Linked DNA regions of Homo sapiens: all the other regions are linked to region 4. The links are contacts of gene promoters, found by promoter capture Hi-C in blood cells and fetal thymus (Javierre and others, 2016). All regions are on one chromosome and are shown on one strand. Each heading gives the region's core, a stretch centred on a gene start or on the middle of the fragment in contact. The rest is flanking DNA. Distances are from core to core; before and after follow the strand shown.

The links. The method cuts DNA at HindIII sites, captures the fragments that hold promoters and counts their contacts. A CHiCAGO score of 5 or more calls a contact.
Region 1: a contact is called between the fragment with the promoter of NUMBL here and the fragment with the promoter of AKT2 in region 4, in 1 of 17 cell types (neutrophils). The highest score is 5.1, in neutrophils.
Region 2: a contact is called between the fragment with the promoter of PSMC4 here and the fragment with the promoter of AKT2 in region 4, in 14 of 17 cell types (erythroblasts, fetal thymus, total B cells and 11 more). The highest score is 11.8, in erythroblasts.
Region 3: the fragment with the promoter of ACTMAP here is called in contact with the fragment with the promoter of AKT2 in region 4 in 3 of 17 cell types (total B cells, activated CD4 T cells and fetal thymus); the score reaches 8.0 in total B cells.
Region 5: a contact is called between the fragment with the promoter of SHKBP1 here and the fragment with the promoter of AKT2 in region 4, in 12 of 17 cell types (monocytes, neutrophils, erythroblasts and 9 more). The highest score is 11.2, in monocytes.

What each region holds. Positions count from the first base shown.
Region 1 is chr19:40,689,327-40,692,026 of GRCh38, reverse strand. It overlaps NUMBL (NUMB like endocytic adaptor protein), which reads left to right and starts at 1,376. Exons shown (of 10, transcript NM_004756.5): 1 at 1,376-1,567. The coding sequence starts at 1,544. COQ8B (coenzyme Q8B) reads left to right here. Exons shown (of 15, transcript NM_024876.4): 15 at 1-497. RefSeq lists silencers at 684-923, 1,244-1,583 and enhancers at 270-1,207, 2,423-2,472, 2,146-2,700. The HindIII fragment of the contact is 12,323 bases long and covers 1-2,700 here.
Region 2 is chr19:39,969,875-39,972,574 of GRCh38, reverse strand. PSMC4 (proteasome 26S subunit, ATPase 4) reads right to left here and starts at 1,410. Exons shown (of 11, transcript NM_006503.4): 1 at 1,337-1,410; 2 at 331-429; 3 at 20-206. The coding sequence starts at 1,372. It overlaps LOC124904720 (a long non-coding RNA gene), which reads left to right and starts at 1,604. Exons shown (of 3, transcript XR_007067260.1): 1 at 1,604-1,695; 2 at 2,139-2,221. RefSeq lists enhancers at 447-1,126, 1,151-1,540, 2,041-2,090. The HindIII fragment of the contact is 1,611 bases long and covers 484-2,094 here.
Region 3 is chr19:40,749,227-40,751,726 of GRCh38, reverse strand. ACTMAP (actin maturation protease) reads left to right here and starts at 1,250. Exons shown (of 6, transcript NM_198476.5): 1 at 1,250-2,246. The coding sequence starts at 1,924. It overlaps SNRPA (small nuclear ribonucleoprotein polypeptide A), which reads right to left and starts at 524. Exons shown (of 6, transcript NM_004596.5): 1 at 246-524. The coding sequence starts at 318. RefSeq lists enhancers at 1-545, 633-702, 1,243-1,482, 1,174-1,799 and silencers at 456-638, 903-1,042. The HindIII fragment of the contact is 2,474 bases long and covers 856-2,500 here.
Region 4 is chr19:40,284,069-40,286,768 of GRCh38, reverse strand. It overlaps AKT2 (AKT serine/threonine kinase 2), which reads left to right and starts at 1,424. Exons shown (of 14, transcript NM_001626.6): 1 at 1,424-1,588. RefSeq lists enhancers at 272-1,103, 2,260-2,399 and a silencer at 1,390-1,889. The HindIII fragment of the contact is 30,037 bases long and covers 1-2,700 here.
Region 5 is chr19:40,575,617-40,578,316 of GRCh38, reverse strand. SHKBP1 (SH3KBP1 binding protein 1) reads right to left here and starts at 1,444. Exons shown (of 18, transcript NM_138392.4): 1 at 1,332-1,444; 2 at 1,033-1,086; 3 at 876-921; 4 at 687-760; 5 at 105-163. The coding sequence starts at 1,417. It overlaps SPTBN4 (spectrin beta, non-erythrocytic 4), which reads right to left. Exons shown (of 36, transcript NM_020971.3): 36 at 1,853-2,700. RefSeq lists silencers at 1,346-1,415, 1,436-1,615, 1,966-2,055. The HindIII fragment of the contact is 21,373 bases long and covers 1-2,700 here.

The DNA.
Region 1 (2,700 bases), core at 127-2,626, 410 kb before region 4:
ATGGGGGATTCAGTCCCCAGAGCAGGCCGTACCCTGCTGTAGTGCCTCTTATCCCTTCCCCGTCTGCCCTGGGTCAGAGGAGCCCCCTTGGGCTTCCCAGTCTTGCCTGGCTCTCCTCCTTGGCCCAGGAGCTCAGGATCCCTGGGGCTGGGGAACTCCCAACTTCGTGCCCTAGATCCTGCACCTCCCCACTCGAAAGTGGGTATCCGAAAACTAAGCCAGGGAAGCGGTTAACTTATCTTTGCCAACATTTGAGGGAGCCTTGGGCCGCTGCATGTCGTTATGCAGATCAGACTCATCAGGGGGAGCCCTCACCTCTGCCTCAAGCCTCCCGTGGAAGGCGAGATGGTCCTGGAGGCAGTCCTCACCTCTGCCTCCCTCGCTCCTCCAACAGCTGCCTTCTCCCGGGTTCCAGCCTCTCAGTGTGTTGGAGAGGTAGGGGTGCGGGGTGGGGGGGAGCTGAATCTTCAATCGGAATAAAAGCAGCCCTCCCCTTCCCCCAGCTCTTTTCTCTGCGCTAGGGTTGGGGGGAGAGGGGGAGGAGCTCGCCAGCGGCCTCCAGGTGCAGATGGCCAGCCCCCCTGCACCCCCTTGTCTGAAAGCCTCAGCCCTGCCTGTGCCATCTGTTGCCGGGAACCTCCTTCTCGCCTTCCCCACCCCCCCCCACGTGCTGACCACCTGCTCTAAGGGCTGTGGCAGCTGAGGCCTCCCACACACACAGTGCCTCTTGGCTGCGGGCTCCCTCCCCTCACTCCTGGCAACCTCGCCTTTACTAATGGGCTCTAATGTCCCTGCCAGCTGCTTTGCCAAACCCACAGGATTGGCGTAGGGGGCGGCGGGGGCGCCGTAGCGGCCAGAACCGCGCCCTGGTCCCACCCCGGCGCCCCCGTTCCCAAAGCCGAACCGATCGCGCATCAGGACGCCTTGGTCTGTTCACACCCCCTCCCCTTCCTTGCAAAAAGTGCCTCGTCACCGCTCCTGCCCGCCCCCGCCGGGCTGGGGAACCATGGGGTTAGCGGGAAGATTTGGGGGTGTGGGGCGGCAAGGCGCCTCTAGAAGCAACTCTTTCGGACGCGGAGCTGGAGGGGATCTGAGGTCAGGTGTCACGGAGGGAAAGGGAGCCCAGGCCAGGACGGACCGGGGGAAAGGACTCGGCGATGTTCATAGGCATGCTCAGCTCGGGACTGGCCAATGGGCGTGGCGGGGCGGTGGCCGCGCCGGGGAAGGCGGGATGGTGTCTGCGTGTGGGCGGGGTCTTCAGGCCAAGGGGCGGGGCGGGGCGGGACCTTTCTGCATATACGGCAGGCGGCGGGCCAATGGGCGGGGTCGGGGCGGGGAGCCGAGGCCGAGGGACGCTCCCCCGCCCCCGGAACGGAATCCTCCCGGGAGCCGAGGAGGCTCGCGCGCGTGCATCCCGCACCATCCCCCGGCCCCGGGCCCTGGCCGGCGTCAGACCGAGCTGCCGCCGCCACCACCGCAGCAGCAGCAGTCGGGGAGCCAGGCCCAGCCAGGGCCGCGGGAGGCGGGGGCGCCCGGGCCCTGGATGTCCCGCAGCGCGGCGGCCAGCGTGAGAAGGGCGGGAGAGGGGGGCTCGGGTCGGGGGCGGCGCCGCTGCTGATGTGGCGGAGGGTGGGAGGCGGCCGCGGCGCCCGGATGGAGAGAGGGTGCCAAGGCTGGAGAGGGTGGTCCCGGGTGGGGGTCCAGGAACAGGCCCAACAAGCCAAAGCCCAGGAGACCGGGGTCTTGGGCACAGACCCCTGGGCCATCTCTTGCCAAGGCCCTGGAAATAGGGATCCTGGACACAGACCCCCCACAAAACCAAGGACAGGGGTACAGAGATTCTAGGTACAACTCCTAGAACTAGATGGGGATGGAGATGGGGTCGGGGACACAGCCCCCGTATCAAACCAAGGCCTCCAGGACGCGATTCCAGACACAATCCCTACCTCTCCCTGCCTAAGGGGGTCTCAGCACAACAACTGCCTAGGTACGGTCTCGAGGATGGGGTCACTGGGTACAGCGTTCCCACCACGCCAAGGCCTAGGGGGACTCCAAGCACAGCCTGCCCCCAGGTCTCAGAGGCACCCTGGGCACAGCATCCCCCCAATCCTTGGGCGGAGTCCCAGGCACAGCCACTTCTCAAAACAAGGTCCCTGTGCCTGGGACTCCACCCCACCCCAGCCTGAATAAAATAAGGACAATTTCAGGCAACCCCCAATCCCTCCACCCCCTGGCTTGGTCATGGGTCCCAGGGCACAGGATCCCTAGGCCACCCCCTTTGTCCCCAGGGCTGCCCAGCTGTCCAAGAGTGGCCCCACCCGCAGACAATGCACCGCTTCCCCCTCCTGGACCTGGCCCTCAGGCTCCAGGATACAGGCTGGGCTGGGGGCGGCTCCCCAGGGACCGGGTGCAGCCCTGTCTGTCTGCAGTGTCTGCGGTGACGGTGACGGCGGCTTTGTGTGTGGTACCTGGGGGGAAGGGGGGAAGCAAGCGATGGGGAGGTGGCTAGGAGTGTGCCCTGTGTTTGTGTGACTGTGGCTGTGTATGTGTGTGTGTGTGTGCACGCGTACGCTGCAGCTGGTGACTGAGGAATCCTGTGTCGTGTGTGTGTGCTTGTGGTGGTGTCTATGATTGTGTCTGTGACCCTAGTATCTGTGTGACTGTGTATGTGTGTGTGACAGCTGCTCACTGTGCAGAATC
Region 2 (2,700 bases), core at 161-2,660, 310 kb after region 4:
TGAGGTGTCCTTAGCACACCTGTGGTAGAGCCCACGATGGCTGTATTCTGATCCACAGCCTCCAGAAATTGTCCGATGACCAGCGGGATGCTTTGGATTCGCTTCACCTCCTCCTGGGCATGGAGAAATTCCTTTTTCAGGTTCTTTTGCTCATCTTTGATGTATTCCTCCTGCACCTCCAGGAACTCCAGCTCTTGCTGCAGCTTCTGCGAGCAGAGAGGGGACAGAAGGGGATGGCTCCAGACTTGCTGATCCAGAGAGTGGTGGAAAGTGGGGAAGAGTATGAGATGTCAGGTCCTGTGCAAGGTCTGGGTTGGGGGTCGAATGTACCTTGTAGCGGCTGTACAGGTCCTCCAGGTCCTCAGGCTCAGGGCCCAGGAAGGACAGGCCGGTCTGGGGCCGGGACACGGACAGTGCTGGGATCTCATCCTAGACGAAAGGGGATAACTCACATTGGAAGAAGACAGTCCTCTCATGAAAGCTTCCCAACTTCACTAATGTTTGTTCCCCTCCCCACTTCACCCTGATGTCACTTAGCCCCTAACAGACCCCTGATATCTTAAGACCCTCTAAATAGATCCTGGAAACCTTTTGGCCACCTAAACAAGCTCTTTATGTCAACTTGCCCCTCAAACAGATCTTATGTTATCATATACCACTCATAACATGTCCCCAGTGTCACACAACCCCCAACTAGGATCTAAACGTCACATCAACTCCTTATCAGACCCAAATGCCACCCAATCCCCTTCAAGAGGTTCCTAATGTCACATGGCTCTCCTAGATAGGCTGTTAAAGTGACTGCGCCTTCAACGAGTCCCAACATTCCCCAGTTTCCCCTCAAAGATCCCTTATGTCACAGTCTCCTAACTCACCTTAGACCTAAATATCACTCAGGCAAGCCACAGATAATACTTAACTACCCGCCCCATTACCCCCATCAGCAAAGCCCTGAACATCAGTCAGCCCCGCAGCCCAGACCCGGGGATCACTCGGCCGCACGGCGGGATCCCATATATCACTCACCGCCTGACCCAATCCCAACGCCGGGCCACCGACCTCACTAAGCACTACCGGCCAGGGTTCGAAATCAATCCGTCTCAAAGACCCACTAACGTCACTCACTCCCCCAGCCCCGCTTTCTGAGCCTTACCTCCTACCATCACTCGGCCACCCAGACAGGCCTTCGAATGGCACAAAGCTCTCCACCGAGGCCTCTAAAATAACCCCAACCTGGGCCGGGGTCCTGGAAGCCATTCCTCCCCCCACTCAGGTCTGGCTTCACCCTCTCCCCGCGAGCCCGGCCCGGACTAAAAAGCCCAAGTCCCCACTGTACCTGAGCCTTCTCCACCAAGATGCCTATCTCCTCCATAGTGACCAAGCCGGCCTCTGTGTGGCCTGGGATGATCTGTCACCGCTTCCGCTGACGACAACGGAAGTCCCTGGCTGAGGAGGCTTCTGGGAAGTGTAGTTTAAGTTACGGCTGAGAGGTGCTGGAAGGGCAGGATAGGACGAAGGGCTGGTCTGGGCTCCGCCCTCAACATAAGCTCATGCGCTGTCCGTACCCGCAGGCGCGAGGGCGGGACGGGAGCTGTGGGCGTGCGCAGTATCACGCGGTGGCGCCATCTCGCCCTGCCGTGGAGGGCTGGGGGTTCTCTCCGGGAGGTGGCGCAGCCCCGTTGCTCTTTCAACGGAGTAAGTTCGCAGAGCTCTGGCACGGACAGTCTGGCGGCCAACTGCTCTTCGCTTTCTAGTGTCTGGGCTGGAGGGTCCTTGAGCTGGGTTCCACAGAAGGGATTGATCGTACGGGCGGGTAAGGTCTCCACGTGGCGCTGATCCAAAGATTGTGCGCCGCGCGGGCGTGGGAAGATCCGAGCTGCCCCTGAAGGTGACATTTCATACTGGGCTTTACCCCGGGATTGAGGAGCCCCGAGCCCGCAGTGAGCAACCAATCGAGTAGAACCCACGCGTCTGGGCTGGGGAAAAGGAGGCAGCGAGTGCCCAGAAGTTGGGTAGCACAGGAGATCCATAGACCTTAGTTCTGTATCCCAGGTTTCCGCCTTACAGATCTATGCCAGGTCCTGCGCTTAAGCTTTACAGGCATCATCGTCGCAAGTATTATGTTTCCTCATTTATAGAGAAGGAGACAAGCTCAGAGCCACGAAGCCACCAGCCACAGTCAACAATGTGCCGAAGGGACAAAGCATAGATTGGGACCCAGGTCTGTCTGTCCCCAAAGCCTGTACTCTTGGCCCCAGGGAAACACTGCTACCCTTCACACCAGCTACAATTTTTGTTAAGTAAACCTTTTATTGAAGTTAAATAAAGAGAAGAGCACAAATCATTACAGCTCGACAAAATTACACAAAGTGAACATGCCCATACAACCTGAATCCAGATCGCAAAACCAAACAGTAGAAGCCTCATGTGCTCCCCTTTCCCCCATCCCTTCTTCTCCCCCCTCCACTCCCCGCCCCGAGACGGAGTCTCACTCTGTTGCCCAGGCTAATATTTGTATTTTTAGTAGAGACAGGGTTTCACCATGTTGGCCAGGCCGGTCACAAACTCCTGACCTCAAGTGATCTGCCTGCCTTGGCCTCCCAAAGTGCTGGGATTATAGGCGTGAGCCACCACATCCGGCCTCCCGATCCCTTCTAAAGGTTATCATTCATCTGTTTTTTTCTTTTTTTTTTAAGAGCT
Region 3 (2,500 bases), core at 1-2,500, 470 kb before region 4:
GCTTCCTGGAGGAAGGGTCCTGTGACCTCAAACCTTGTAAGATGAGCAGCAGTGACCACGTTAAAGGGCAGAGTGTAAGATGAACTAATGGAGTGTTGAAGACAGGAAGTAGTTTGTGTAAAGGCCAAGGAGTTAACTCGAAGTTTGGCTGGACAAACACTTAGAAAGAGAGGCGGGTGCAGGGGACGGAAGAGGGGCCAGCCCGTGCGGGACAGTCTGGACTCCGGACTATCCCGAGAACTCACCATCCTTCTTGATCTTCTCATTGAGGTTGTTGATATAAATAGTGTGGTTAGGGCGGGTCTCGGGAACTGCCATGGAGTGAAGTGTTGAGGTAAGTCTTAAAGGAGGAAAAACGTGACTTTAGCCCTGGGTTTCTCCAAATCCTTTGTCCCAACGTCGGCTGCTCAAGGATCTTCCTCCGAAAAGGAAGTCAGGTAAGGCGGGAGTAGGGGCAAGGACGGAGGCAAAGCGCGACAACAAAGCGTGCGTAGGACCCGCTTCTCCAGCCCGCGTGCGGAGAGAACTCTCGAGAGATTTACTACGACTTCCAGGATGCTCTACGCGACCCGGTGGGCGGAGCACCCTAAATGGCGATTCCCATTGGCCCAAGCATCCGAAGGGCCGTCCCGGAGAAAAAACCCGGATGTGGGAGCCAGTATAGAAAAAAGGGACAGGTCCTAGGCAGCCTGGCCTCGAGCAGCAAGTTTCCTCAGACGGGCCCAGGAAGGCCCGGACGCCAAGCGTACCGCTCGCCTGCCGCCGATGGTCGTTTGCACCGGAGGTTACCTTCCGACAGGGCCGTAGTTCTCTCAACCGGCGCCTGCTACTTCCCTGAGACCAAACCACAAAGCTTTCTCTCCTGGCCCCGCCTCTGCCTTTCTGCCAGCCAATCGCCGCGCGGAAACGCAGTAGCTTGACCAATCAGAGCAAGTCTCGTTTCTGGGCTCAGCTGTTGCCAATCAAAACGATATTTGGGTTCCCGCCTAGGTAGAAAAACCCCGCCCCACTCCCTGAAAGCCCACCTCCTTCCGTGGCGCCCGGGTCTACGGACCAATCAGTGAAGGTCACGAGTCTGTACGCGTCTCGCGCTGCGGTGTCTTCCGGAGGCAATCCTTTTTGGAGTCCCGCCTCTTACCCCCGCCAGAGCTGCGTTTTCTGTCACGTGATCGCAAAATGGGCGGGAACTGTTGCGTGTAATACCACGTGATATGGGAAAGGCAGTGTGCGGGGGCCGCCATTTTCCGGGAGTGGGAGGTGCACTTTACTTCCTGACTCCTTTCCTTTTTCCAGTGGTTATCGCGGCGCCCACCGGCCTCTGATCTCTGAGTCTTCTCCAACCCACAGACGTTTTTTGTTGCTCTGGTTCCAGGACCTTCTCCACAACTAGGCCATTTTCCCTGCCAGGTGTCCTTTTTGACCTCTTGACCTCTGACTCAAAGGTCAGCTCAAAGGTTCCGAACTCGGGCCTGGGATGTGAGGGGGTACTGAACCTAAGTTCTCCGAATCTTTAGCCCTGGGTCCCTAAGTCGCATCCTTAAGGCACCTCACTCTAGATCTGAGCCTTCATATCCCAAACTCACTCATGAGTTTCCACATCCAGCCCCAAAGAATGAGTTAACTCCTACTAACTCTCCACCTAAGACTCCCGAGGTAACCCAACCGGTACCACAGATCCGGTTCCGGATTTAAGGACCCCACCCTGTTAACCGTCAGGTGCCTTATGACTTGAGTCAGCCTCGCAATTCCTGCTCCCGTGGTTTCAAATATTAGCCCTGGTCCTTTCACACCCACTGCTCAGTCCCCAGATTCTGGAACTCAGCTCTTAAACCTTTAAAATCTCCATCCCTGAGACCGTTCTCCGTTGGAGGATCCTTCCCTCCCCGCTTTCTGAACCTCTCAACACCTCCTGTAGACCCCAAAATGACTTCTCCATGCTCTCCTCCCCTAAAACCACCAATTTCTCCTCCAAAAACCCCTGTACCCCAAGCCAGCAGCATTCCATCTCCTCCTCTACCCCCAAGTCCCCTGGACTTTTCAGCTTTACCATCCCCTCCCTGGAGTCAGCAGACCCCTGTTCCCCCACCGCTCCCACTGCCTCCTCCACCCGCTGCCACAGGGCCTGCTCCCCGTCATGTCTTCGGCCTGGAGAAGAGCCAGCTCCTGAAGGAGGCCTTTGATAAGGCCGGCCCGGTCCCCAAGGGCAGAGAAGATGTGAAGAGGCTTCTGAAACTACACAAGGACCGGTAGGGTCTCCATGCCCCACCCACCACCCAGGCTCTGCCCTAGACACTTCACAGATCTCTTGGGGTGGGGGGGGGGTTCCCGTGTCCTCAAGATCAAACAGGCTGACTACTTAGGTCCCCCACCTAGATCTCTTCCATGGTGGTGTGCCTCCAGCAATGAAGAAAGCTGTCCTCACAAGTGCCCAGTCCAGTCCGGGTGCTTTGGCTCATGCATGTAATCCCAGCACTTTGGGAGGCCGAGGCGGGTGGATCAC
Region 4 (2,700 bases), core at 175-2,674:
CAAGCAGCAAGTTCCAAGCTAGAAACCAAATAAGAAAGGGCTAGTTCCAGCATTAGGTTTACGTCTCAGAAAACGAAAGCCGAACCCTCAGCAGGATTTGCCTGAAACACTCTCACAGACTGAGGTGGACCCAGGATTCAACTCTCAGTCAGGCATTTTTCTCACTTACCAATGCATACAATTGCCAAGTTATATGGCATACTGGAACCCAAATTCAGGAGGCAGCACAATCCCCTATGAGAGAGGAGGGGCTGGGAGCCAGATGTCTCACAGCTGTCCAGTATACTAGCTAATATACGGATTAGGATCTGTGCAAAGCTCTTTTCTTGCAGGGTCATTTTTTTTCTTTTTTCTTTCTTTTCTTTTTTTTTTTTTTTTTTGAGACGGAGACTTGCACTGTCGCCCGGGCCGGAGTGCAATGGCATGATCTCGGCTCACTGAAACCTCTGCCTCCCGGGTTCACGCGATTCTCCTGCCTCAAGCCTCCCAAGTAGTTGGGATTACAGGCACACACCGACATGCCCGGCTTTTTTTTTTTTTTTTGTATTTTGAGTAGAGACGGGGTTTCACTATGTTGGCCAGGCTGTCTCGAACTCCTGACCTCATGATCCGTCTGCCTTGGCCTCCCCAAGTGCTAGGATTACAGGAGTGAGCCACCGCGCCCGGCCGCAGGGTGATTTTAAGGCCTTTATGGGCCCAAGTTGCATTATAAAATGTTATATCCCAGATTCACTGGAATATGTACGATGAGAGCAGGTGGCATTAATATCTTGCAGTAATGAACTAATTGGTAAAAACCGTTTTGTTTACATTAAAATGGTTCAAAAGCCAGCGACACAGCGATGATTGTTTCCATTTAGCAGATGTGGATACTGAGGCACAGAAAACGGTCAAGCCTTCTGCCCACAGTCACCAGAAAGGAGGAAATTCAAGTCTGGGGTTGTGTGGCTTCAGAGCCTGAGCTCAACCATGACGAGCACACTGAAAAGGAAACCCCTCCTAACTAACTCCCGCTCCGGGGTCCTTTAAGAGCGTCAGAACCCAGAACTGAGTAAAACAAGATCAAAGCGTATGTAAATACGGACTAGGGGCTGCCGGGAAATAATCACTACGGCTAGGCCCTAGGGAAAGCAGACGTCGGAGTCCTAGTGCGCCTGCGTAGCCCCATCTCGCCTTTCCGCCCCACGGCCTAGCGAGGCCCATCTCTAACCCACACAGGCCCAAAGTTGTCTAATGTGCGCAGGCGCCCTGCTGTGAGCCCGCCTCCTTCTCTGCCCTGCTCTTGCGCTCTCGCTCTCTCAGAGTTCGTCTCTGGCTCTTTGTACGTCACTTCCTGTTTGTGGCGCGAGAGGGCGGTATTTCCGTCCAGAGGGTGGGAGGGGGCGGTAAGCGGGGGCTGGGGGGAGGGGGCGGGGGGGGCCGCGCCGTGCTAGCCGTTGGGCCTGCCTCGGAGGAGGCGTCGCCGCCGCCGCTGCCGCTGCCGGCGCCGTTGCCGCTGCCGGGAAACACAAGGAAAGGGAACCAGCGCAGCGTGGCGATGGGCGGGGGTAGAGCCCCGCCGGAGAGGCTGGGCGGCTGCCGGTGACAGGTGAGTGCGCCAGCGCGTGTCCCCGAACGCCCCCCCCACGATGGTCGCGTCCGGGCCCCCCGCGGTGCCGCGATGGGCTGTACCACCCGTGCCCGGCGGGGGGACCGCGGCCCTCGAGCCCCTCCTTCAGGAGCTGAGTGGGGGTGGCCGAGCGGGGGCGGTGGGACCAGCCTCGGGGGGCCGGGGCGGTGGCGGCGGGCCATACCACTGAGGCGGTGGGGGGAGCGCTGCAAGTTTGCGGGACGGGGAGCGCAGGCCGCAGCGTGCGCGGGCCGGGGGCTGGACCTTTCGGGCGCGGCGGGCAGATCGAGCCTGGCGTGCGCGGGCTAAGCTATCGAGGGGGCGCGCCGCATCAAGTGTAGAGGGCTGTACCTTTTTGGCGCTGTGGAAGCCGTTGCTGTGCTGTATTTACAGGGGTGGGGGCTTCTGGGGAGGATGCTTCCCCAACTGTGGCTGGGTTATATCACCACGGCGTTGGGGGAGCCCTGCTTAGAACGTAGGGGAACCCAAATCAGAGGACTGTGATGTTTGTGATCTTTAAGGGACTGGGACGGGGCGGGACAGGCCCTAGTGGGTTTTAGGGGCGTATTTTGGGAGGACTGTGATGCCGATTGGTGAGGAGGGGTTTCTGTTTCCTGTATTTGACGTGTGTGGCGTTGGGGGTTTACACTGATCTCAGCCTTTATTGAACTTCTTAACGACTCTGGAGGGAACGTCATGGTTACTGGGGTGCTTTGGACCATGGAGGTGCTGCTCTGGATTCCATTACCCTCTCAGATTATTTACCAGGCAGTAACAGTTCTTTCCTTCCATAGGGGAGGGAGGAAAGCTGTGTTAGAAGTCACTGAAGTTGTCTGAGCCTTAACATTCTGAAGAGGAAGAGGGATTGGGCTTGGATTTGAGGAGCCGTGCCCCTGCACCCGCTTGTTAAAACTTGGGAGGAAGGAGTGTTTGGGGGAACACCTCTTCCCCCCAGGGAAGCTCTCTGGGGGCATCTTGATCTTGGGATTGTGAGGACCTCTTCCTCTCATTTGGAGACCTCTTGGGGCTCAGCAAGACGCCTGGGCTGGAGTAACTAGAGCCTCCAATGGGCTGCTTTTCAACTTCATCCA
Region 5 (2,700 bases), core at 195-2,694, 290 kb before region 4:
CTCTACCCCAGCCCTCTTTCAGGAGAGAAGGGGAAGAGGGGCAGGTAGCATCACAGAGTTGGTTTTCTATACAATGAGGATGATAGCTGGGGGCTCCCACTTACCCAGAGGAGTGAGCCCATAGAACTGGGCTTCATGGAGGAGGCTGGAACCGTGGACACCCCTGGGTAGTAGAATTGACTAGAGGTCAGGGTCTAGGTGTGGGGGTGAACAGAGAATGCTGAGAGGGTAATTTTCAAAACTGCACAGAGAATGTCAAGGGGTAGAAAGTTTTGATGGAATAAAGATGCTAAGGAGTGATGATATGGGTGGAGGAAATGTTGAGTGTGTGTGTGTGTGTGTGTGTGTGTGTGTGTGTGTGTGTGTGTAGGGAGAAATCGAAGGACATAAAATTTTAACATGATCAAGATTCTCATGAAGTTTTGCCTGTTTGCTTTTTTAGAGAAGGGGTCTCGCTATGTTGCCCAGGCTAGTCTCCAAATCCTGGGCTCAAGTGATCCTCCCACCTCGGCCTCCCAAAGTGTTGGGATTACAGGCGTGAGCAATCCCGGCGCGCCCGGCCTGTGATCAAGGTTCTGAATGAGAATTCTAATAGAATGGAGCTCACGTGGACATTCAGAGGAGGTGAAAGAACTCCTCAGGGACTGAAGACAGTGAGGGACTCCCTCCCCTTTTTCCATGCCAACCTGGGATCCAACTCTTTGGTGCGCAGGAAGTTGAGGATGGGGGCGAAGACTGTAGGGTCCCTGTCGATGAAGATCTGCGGGAAAGGGGGGCAGAGGATGGATGGGGTAAAAGGCAGGACTGAGTGGGGTCCTGCCCCTCTTCCTACCAACCCCTCCCCCCCATCCCATTTCAGTTCTTGTCCGACTCACTGCTCCGGTCTCATCTTTCAGCGTCGAGATGCGTCCGCTCAGAAGACTGCAGGGAAGGGACACCGAGCAGGCGTCACGGGCCGGGGGAGTGGATATTAGGTCTCCCACGCCCTCTCCATCCCTCCTACCCTCGCCCCAAACTCGCTCTCCCGATCACCTGGAGAAGAAGGAGTCTGGGATCCAGGTGAGAGTCTGGCGAGAGGTACTGAATCTGGGCGGGGAAGGTAAACGGACGCAAGAGATGAAGAGGAGCGGGTGAGGAATGCGTCCCCCTCCCGCAGGATCCAGGGTTCCCTCCCCTTCCCCCTCCCCCGGCGTTTTTCCAGAATCTCGCGCCTCCAAAGGGGGGGGGGGCGGAGCAACCCTTGATGGACAGGGATTCCCCCAGGAGAGGCGGATACTCCCACCCCGCTTCCCGCCCCCGAGGATGGGACCTCAGGAGTCTCCCACACTCACCTCTTGCCTCCCACATTCAGATGAATGACTTCCCCGGGAGGCCCCCGACTGGGGACCCCCTCGGCTGCAGTAGCCGCTGCTGCCATGGCCCCCGGGCGAGCCGGCTGGCCCGCACCCACTTCCGGGTGTGCACCCGGACCCCGCCTCCATAGGCTGCTCATTGGGCCAGAGACTCCAGGAGTCACTAGCGATTGGACAGAGCGCCTGCCCATCGCGGTTAACTTTTCCGCCTCCTTAAAGGGGTCCGCCTTTCCTGAACTTGACGGGGCGGACCCGGAGTCTCCTTTGGGGAAGTTTATTACGAAGCATAACGAAATATTCTCCATCCCTCTAGGTTCTCGTCAAGGGGCGTGTGTTTAGACCCCGAAATTAAGTCCACATAAAAGGGTACATCTGGATGTTCTCCGCAGCCACGGTACCCCCGTGCCCCTCTCCCCACCCCGCACCCACCCCTACAGCCACCACAGCCCTCCTTTCAATCCTCCCGGGCGCAGCCCAGAAAACCCAAACAAAGGACCATAGACCGTCAAAGCCAAAGGGTTTATTATAGGTACATACAGTGTGCGCCCGCCACACCGCCCCACACCCCCGGGCCCCAGCGGCTTCTCCAGGCGGCCATGGGGACTGCCCACAACCCAATCCCCCGACTCCCCAGGGAGGTGCTCCAGCCAGAAGCATGCAGGGGTGGGCTTCCCCTCGCCCCTCCCCTCATGAAGTGGCATTTACAACTGGAGGGGGGAGGAGAGAGGAAAACAGTTTTGAGCTTTGACGCCCCTCCCATTAAAAGCCTTCGCGGATGCGGGGCGGGGGAGGAGGAGATCGACGTTTTGCAAAAATAAACTAAGTCAGGAATTAACCGCATGGCTCTGAGGCGGCGGAGTGCAGGGGGCTAGGGCCCCTTCACTCCCCCCTCCCAGACAGAGATCAAGGCAGCATTGGAAGTGAGGTAAAGGCGGGGAGGGGGTGTCCCCTCCCTGCCCCCTAGCACCCTGGATGGTCCAGGGGACCTCACCAGCGCCCCCGTGCCCATCCCTAGGGCAGAGAGGGGGGCAGGAATTACTGCCCCCACCACCCCAGCTTCTTGGGGCAGGATCTGCAGATCGGGGCTGGGGGCTTGGCTCAACTGGCCCCCTGCCCACCCCCATCAAGCTCAGTTATTGCATAAAAATAAGGGACCCCCAGCACCTGGGGTGGGGGTGGTGAGTGGGAAGGGGCCGAGATATGGCTATAGGGGCAGCAATCTCCCCACCACTTCTTGGGGTGCAGGAGAAGTCCCCTCCTTTCCGGTGCCCACCATGTCACGCGTCCTCAGTGTTGGAACTAGGGGCTCCCGCCCCTGCGGAAGAAAAAGTGTCTTTGTGCCCACAGT